Linked DNA regions of Homo sapiens: region 2 is linked to region 1. The links are contacts of gene promoters, found by promoter capture Hi-C in blood cells and fetal thymus (Javierre and others, 2016). All regions are on one chromosome and are shown on one strand. The core of a region is centred on a gene start or on the middle of the fragment in contact, and the rest is flanking DNA. Distances in the headings are between cores, read along the strand shown. Region 1 holds the start of MON1B (MON1 vesicular trafficking associated B). Region 2 holds the start of TXNL4B (thioredoxin like 4B).

Region 1 (3,602 bases), core at 454-2,953:
TGAAGGTGGGGTCTGGTGGGAGTTGATCGGATCTTGGGGGTGAATCCTTCATGAATGGTTTAGCATCATCCTCTTGGTGACAGTGACTGAGGGAGTTATTGCGAGATCTGGTTGTTTAAAGTGTGTAGCCCTGGGCTGGGCATGATGGCTCACTCCTGTAATCCCAGCAATTTGGGAAGCTGAGGCGGGTGAATCACCTGAGGTCGGGAGTTCAAGACCAGCCTGGCCAACATGGCGAAACCCCATGTCTACTAAAAATACAAAAATTAGCCGGACGTGGTGGCGGGCACCTGTAATCCCAGCTACTCCAGAGGCTGAGGCAGGAGAATTGCTTGAACCCGGGAGACGGAGGCTGCAATGAGTCAATAACATTTTGCCATTGCACTCCAGCCTGGGTAACACAGCGAGATTAATAAATAAGTTTGCTTATGAGATGTTATTTTATTGTACTTTTTTACATGTTTATTATATATTATATACTTCTAAATGTATTAGGTAAATATATTTTGTATGCACATAAATTTATCCATTGTTTCTGTTATATAAATTTAATATTTATTACTTATCGATTACCTATTGTATATAAAGCACATGATGCTACACTGGTATTTGGAATTCATTACCCTAACTATACTGTAATTAAAATAATTATCCTAACTAGTACCAAAGGCTTCCCCTTAGCAATCACTCGAAGTGTGCCAGCACCTCCACTCACTTCACGTCAAGCGATTCCCATCATTGTTTCACTGATGGAGAAACCAAGGCCCAGGGCACTTGGGGCAAGGCGTTCAGGGGGCTTTCGGTCCGGAAGCAGCGTCGGGGCGGGAATTCGAACCCTGGGTTCCCACACTGGCCCGTGGCAGGGCCCCCAAGCCTTTTCCCAAACTGATCACAGAAAGTGACGACCCGTTCGCCCGGCGGACCGGGGGCGTCGGGCAGGTCCTGGTCCAAGTGAGTGCCCGCCCCTGCCCTGGGCTGGCAGAGTTCTTCCCCCAGCTGCAGGTAGACGTGGGAACCCGGCAGGGTACGGAGCTGCTGGCGCGGCACGCTGATTAGAAGCGGCGACTGCCCGTCAAGCATTCGCGCCTCTCCCCTCCCTTGACTTTCTTGGCAGGGTTAAGGGATAAGAGAAAGTGGAGTTGCCTCAGTTCTGGGAGAGCCCGTTTGTGGGTCCGGCACAGGTATCCATCGGGACTGACGCTGCAAAAGTCCTCTTGTGAAACAAGGAATAGGCTCGAGTCTTCGATTGGGTCGAGGGAGACGTCAATCAATGGATGGGCGTGTGCAAACGCAACACAACGCACAGTATTGGTTAGGATTTGGCGGGGGGAGTAGACAGCGGGGAAATGAGGCGGCTCATCTCGATTGGCCCAGAAAGAAGACGGTCGCGCCCTATGTACTCCGGGATTGGCTAGAGCGAGCCGCGTCCCCCCTCACGCCAACCACTGGTAAGCGAAGTGGGCCTCGCTCTCCCGGGTTAGCAGCCGTAGCCAGATCCGTTGAAAGGAGTGCAGAGAGGTCTCATTGCGCTCCCGAACAGACCTGACGTAGATCCGAAGTGGCCCGCGCCATCTCAACTATGAGGGGACACCCGTAGGCGGCGGGAGAGGGACGCCGCGAGGAGCCAATAAAGCTCCGCAACCGGAAGTGTCTTCTGGGAGGGGTCGTACCCGGAAGTGTGGCACCTCCCGGGCCGCACCCGGAAGTGTGATGCCACCGCCGCTACGGGGAAGTAATGGTATCCGGCCAATTGAGATTCGGAGTTAAAACAGGTGTTTGTATATCTCTATTTCCTGAGGCCCAGTAGAGTCTCCTCTTTTCGGAAAGTGTTGGAGGGGGGACGTATTTGGGCATGATTTTGGATGTCTCGTCCTATTGAAATCCGTGGGGAAATGAGCAGTAGGAGTGTGTCCAAGGGGGCCTGACTCTATAAAGGCTTTTCAGAAGTTTCTTTCACCGCCCGTCACCCTCGATTCCCCTCCCACTCAGGGATGTGCAGATGGAGGTCGGAGGAGACACTGCTGCCCCGGCCCCCGGGGGCGCGGAGGACTTGGAGGACACGCAGTTCCCCAGTGAGGAAGCTAGAGAAGGTGGAGGGGTTCACGCGGTCCCGCCGGATCCCGAAGACGAGGGCCTGGAGGAAACAGGTATGACTCCACTTAGTGGGGTCTTAAAAGGAATCCTTAGGGGTTGTCATTGTTGGACGGGGGAAGGGTCAGTGGGTGACCAGTAGGGAGTCTTGGGACTTAAGAGAAGTGGCTTAAACCATCGCCGGGTCAGGAGGAGGTCACTGTGGACACATGGTGTAGTTTACATCATTGAGGAAGTCATTGGCTGTCAACGGATGTTCACTGGGGGTTTGGTGTGAGTTTAGGTCATTGAGGAATCAAAAAGGGGGCTGTTAGGACCAAAGAGGGTCACTGAGGATTTAGAGTGTTTAGATCAAAGAATGCGCTGAAGAAAGTCAATAGACTCAACAGAGGAGGACTGTTGAGAAGTTAGTGTTTTTGAGGAGTAGGGTGTTATTTATTAAATAATAGAAGTGGGAAGGGGAATCAGTGGAGTTCGATGGGCACTCAGAGTATTTACATCATTGAAGTCACTTGTAGACTGTTGGGGAAGTCTTTAAGGGACCAAATGTTAGTGGATGTGTAAAGTTGTTCATTTGAGATTTAATGGAAGTCACTGAGAAGTCTGTGCCATTGATCACTTTGGAATTAGTGGATGTAAATGGAGTCATTGGGAAGGATCAGTGGACCTCACTGAGAATAAATGTGGATGGGGAGGTTGAGGACTTGGGAATTAATAGCAGGTAAGAGCAGTTATTAGGAGGGAGTAAAGATATTTGGGGACATGGGAGTGTCAGTGAATGTCAGTGACAGAATATGCAATTATTGGGATTTTATGGGAAAATTATTGAGACATAGTTGCACATGGATAATAATGGTTGTCATTGGGGGATGAATGGAAATCAATGGGAATAAATGGATGTGTCAGTAGGGGCTGTTGAAGTTGTGGGTTTTAGTGAATGTTAATGATGGTCATGGGTAGGGGCAATGGAAGTCATTAAAGTCTTGTGTGTTAGTGGATATTATGATGGTTACTGTAGGGAGGGGAGTGGATACCAATGAGATTGAAGGTGGTCAGGGGAGTGACTGAAGGTCTCTGAAGTGCTGGGTGTTAGTGGAGGTTAATGATGGTCATTGTTGGGGGTAGGGGGGAGTAGACATGGAGTAGAATAACTTGTGGATCAGGGCAGTCATGGAGGGTCATTGAAAAACCAGGTGTTAATGATTGTTAATGTGGGGTCATTGGGGTGTTTGTGAACCACAGTGGGAGTGAATAGTGGATTAGGGGAGTCCTAAATATCTGGGTGTTAGTGGATATTAACGACAGTCATTGGGAGAAATAGTGGACATTACCAAGAATATAAATGGGCAACCAGGAGAGTTAGTAGGGGTCATCAGGTATCAGTGGGCATCACTGATAGGGTAGTAGCGGGGGTTGGGGCATTCAAACAGTTAAGATATTAATAGATGTTAATGGTGGCCATTGGGTGAGCAGATATCAGGAGAAAAAATAGCGGTCAGAGGAGTTAATGG
Region 2 (3,933 bases), core at 643-3,142, 5.1 Mb before region 1:
ATACCCAACCCTGACTACTCCCTCTCATGTACTACTCAGATGCTGAAGTGAGAATATACAGATTATTAATAAAAACCAATTATTTTAGACATTCACTTACAATATCATCTAGCTGCAGACAGACAGGATCTTCATCTCTCCCAAACCTGAGAACCAACACCTTCTCAGCAGTACTTTTTATCGCCTGGTCTACTTCCTTTTTGCTAGTCAGCTTGGGCAGTAGGAAGCTCATCTTGAAATAACCCAAATGTGAATCCTCACTGTCACTCCTGAAATAAAGGTGCAATGTTTAAAGACAGTTTAGATTAAGTGCGTGAGCCCTCATTAAAAAAAATTAATTCACAGAGTAGCTAATGTATTCACATGGTATGAAAGAAACATCATAGAAAGGTAACACTGTGGAGTTTCCCTCTCTTTGTCCCTGCTCCTTGGAACCAGTTTTCATTGTTCCCTCCCCCGGGCCAGATAACTGCTTTCATTAGTTTCTCATGTATCTTTCAGAGTTTTGTTATGCATTCACCAAAAAATACAAATATGCGTTCCGATATTTTTTTTCTCTCTCTCCCCACCCCCAAAAGATAGCCTATTGTATCAGTGTTCCAGCAGGAAAGCGATGACACTCTCAACTTTGGTAATTTGAAGGCAGTTTAATTAAGGCAGGTGTAGAAAAACAATACGGTAAAGTGTACTACTTTGGGGCTAGTAACAGCGGGATGCTGTACCCATCCCTAGGCCATGGGAGGAAGAAGCCACGGTAGGAAGCAGTTATAAGAATTGTGTGGCAGAAAGAGGTGAGTGGAGAGGACAGTGTATAGGAGGGCAGCCTGCTGTTAGGTGTTGCAGCCACTCTCCTCCCTCCCTCTGACCTTTGCTCATGCAACCACCGGCTGACTCCAACTGGAACCAGAGGGCAGGGGCCTGTTGAGGCAGGCAAACCTCCCTGTCCCAGAGCAGTCTAGAGGAGGATGAAGAATGGCTGTGGAGGGACCAATGGCAGATGTTCAGCACACACACTTTATCTACTCTTCAGCACTTTTCATTATTTCAAACCTAACCTATGAAGATTGCCCCATATCTCTATATAGAGAACATCCATATTCTCTGTCATGGCAGCATATTATTTCTTGCATGTGTTACACTTTTTAAACAGTCCTTTATTGTATACTTTATATTATTACAAGTCCTGGCTTAAAGATTCTTCGTGTGCACCTTACTAGGTGCACCTCATTACACGGCAAACAGATCAATTAAGAGTGTGTGTGAAAACTACAATACCATAAACAAATAATAAAATACTGAGGTACAAGGGACCTAATACAACCCCGTCATTTTACAAACTAGCTTGCTTACAGTTGCACTTTCTACTACAATGACAAGGACTAGAATACAGGCCACCAAATTTCTAGTCCAGGGGTCCTTCTACTACAATAATCTATTTTCATGATTGGTAGAAATTTCATTTTTGAGAAACTCTTTGACAAAGAAGCTTAGTTTTGTGGTCATCTATAAGAGACTCCATTGAGATGGTCGGTATTTTGAATTCAGTTCCAAATATGAAAAGGGAGGATTTCTTTTCCTATTTTTTTTGTCACAAGTCACATTTTAAGATACGAATTAGGCCAGGCTCACCCCTGTAATCCCAGCACTTTGGGAGGCCAAGGAGGGTGGATCACCTATGGCCAGGAATTCGAGACCAGCCTGGCCAACATGGTGAAACCCCGTCTCTACTAAAAATACAAAAAATTAGCCGGGCGTGGTGGCAGATGCCACCTGTAATCCAAGCTACTCAGGAGGCTGAGGCAGGAGAATTGCTTGAACCCTGGAGGCGGAGGTTGCAGTGAGCTAGGATCGCTCCACTGCACTCCAGCCTGGGCAAGGCAACAAGAGCGAAGCTCCGTCTCCAAAAAAAAAAAAAGGAATTATTTAACTAAAATTCACATAGGAAATAAGATTGTTCCAGCTATAGGTCATACTTTAAACAGGGACATTGATGGCCCAAAGGGACGTCATCAGATGTGAGCAGCAGAACAAATTACCAATGAAAGGGAAGGTCAAAGAGAAGACGGATCTGTCCCACTAGAATTCAAACAAACAGCAGTTCCTCCGTGTTACTGATCGAAAGGAGAAAGTAAGGGGAGAACAAAGTTGTTAGTGGTGAGGCTAGGGGTGCAACTGGACAAACGTTGGAAGCAGGAGAGGAAAACTGAGACCACATCTAAGAAAATGTCCATAGTAAATGATACCCACAGAGAATTCCCAAAAGAAGACGTACAAATGGACAGTAAATAAACTAAAAAGTTAAGCTTTACCAGTAAGCAAAGAAAAGCAAATTAAAACATATGTTTACAAAGTCACTGAATTGGCAAAAATTAAACAAGATAGTGGTAGGGGCAGGCACAGGGAGTTCCTGCTGGAATGCAGACACAAAACCTTTCTGGAAAGAAAACTGACATACTCTTTGACCAATAACTCCACTGCTTTCCTCTCTCCCTCTCTTTTTCTGAGGCGGGGTTTCGCTATGTTGCCCAGGCTGGTCTCAACTCCCCAGGCTCAAGCAATCCTCCCGCCTCAGCCTCCCGAGTAGCTGGAACCTCAGGCGCGCGCCACAACTGCAGAAACACCAAAAAAAGAAAAAAAGCTTGAACTCACTTTTGTACAGAATCTTACTACAATGTATTCCAGAAAAACAACTGGAAATCAGTGGTCATCTCTGCGTGTGAACGCATGGGTGATTTTTATTTACAGCCGGGCGCGCATCTCCATTTTCCAAAATATCCGATATACATATTTAAAGTCACCTGTGTTGCGCTGCTCCTGGCCCACAAGCGCTAAGGGACCCCAGCACTTACCTTACTCGTCCACGCCGCCTCACTCCCTTTCACTTTGTGGCTGTCAGCAACCACTTCTCGGAAGAGCCCGGGCGCGGACAGCTCCTTTCATCAGCCCCAAGCCGGACAGGACCCTAAGACCAAGTCACCCAGGGGCTGTTGCCTAGCAACCCTCGTGGCCCCGCTAGCGGGAAGGAAACCGAACAGAAAACGCACAAGCGCAGAAAAGAAACTCCTGGCCGTCGGTCGGCCCCCGCTCAACAGCCCAATAAACGGAAGAGCTTCTAGTCACCGCCCACCTTGCTCGGCTCTGACCGGAAGCTAGGCGTCACCTCCGCCCGTATTAAAGATGGTCGACCTTTTTCCCCTCCTTTTCCTGCCCCCAGACTAGAGGCGGGATGTAGTCTCTTAGGCTAAGAGTGATTGGTCACAAGGAGACTCGGAAGTGTCTGATCAGAGCCCCAGAGGAGGCCTTGAGAGCCTGTTGGCGTACCGTTCCACACTTGGATCCAGGAATCGGGCGTGTTCCAGGCTGCTCTCTATGGTAGCTTTGGGCGGATAGAGGGGGCGCGCAAAGTATTAAGGGACAATAATGGCCGCTTTCAAGGTGTGGATTTTGGCTCCTTGAGCCTGTCTGAGCGAGGGGTGGCAGCGCCGGCGCCCCAGAATCCGGGACAGAAGGGTCCCAAGAGTCGCGCTTGGTGAGGTGAGAGTCCCTTCTTCCTTCCTGGCCTGCCCTTCTGTAATCATGGCGGCTCTAGGCGGCGGATATTGGTCCCCTGCTCAGGTCCGGGCCCCAGTTTGGGGAGTTCCTCTGTCGTCCCTGTCACCCACCTTGCCTTACTCACCTCAGGGATGCTGCATCCGTCCTGGCCGCCTTGGCCTTCCTCCTTGCTCTGGTCAAATCCTGCTGCCTGGAGCGGCCTCGCTGAGATCCAGGGATGCTGCCTGGAGTGGCCTTGGTCCCTCTCCCAGGCCTCCGCTTTAACCCACCCCAGACTGTCACCGAGCCCGAGTAGGACTCCTTGTGTCTTCCTCTGCTCTCTCACAGTGTCATTTATACCAGGCAATCTGGTGGGCGATCTCTTCTACTAGAATGTCAGCT

Evidence for each region. The method cuts DNA at HindIII sites, captures the fragments that hold promoters and counts their contacts. A CHiCAGO score of 5 or more calls a contact.
Region 2: a contact is called between a fragment that was not itself captured here and the fragment with the promoter of MON1B in region 1, in 1 of 17 cell types (naive CD4 T cells). The highest score is 7.5, in naive CD4 T cells.

The regions. Positions count from the first base shown.
Region 1 is chr16:77,189,487-77,193,088 of GRCh38, forward strand. It overlaps MON1B (MON1 vesicular trafficking associated B), which reads left to right and starts at 1,704. Exons shown (of 6, transcript NM_014940.4): 1 at 1,704-1,772; 2 at 1,990-2,147. The coding sequence starts at 2,000. LOC124903725 reads right to left here and starts at 1,080. Exons shown (of 1, transcript XM_047435021.1): 1 at 422-1,080. The coding sequence starts at 1,080. The coding sequence ends at 736. RefSeq lists enhancers at 1,422-2,370, 1,496-1,785, 1,806-1,855. The HindIII fragment of the contact is 24,724 bases long and covers 1-3,602 here.
Region 2 is chr16:72,090,518-72,094,450 of GRCh38, forward strand. TXNL4B (thioredoxin like 4B) reads right to left here and starts at 3,103. Exons shown (of 4, transcript NM_017853.3): 1 at 2,850-3,103; 2 at 101-269. The coding sequence starts at 232. It overlaps DHX38 (DEAH-box helicase 38), which reads left to right and starts at 3,330. Exons shown (of 27, transcript NM_014003.4): 1 at 3,330-3,534. RefSeq lists enhancers at 2,876-3,205, 3,216-3,265, 3,326-3,625. The HindIII fragment of the contact is 817 bases long and covers 1,485-2,301 here.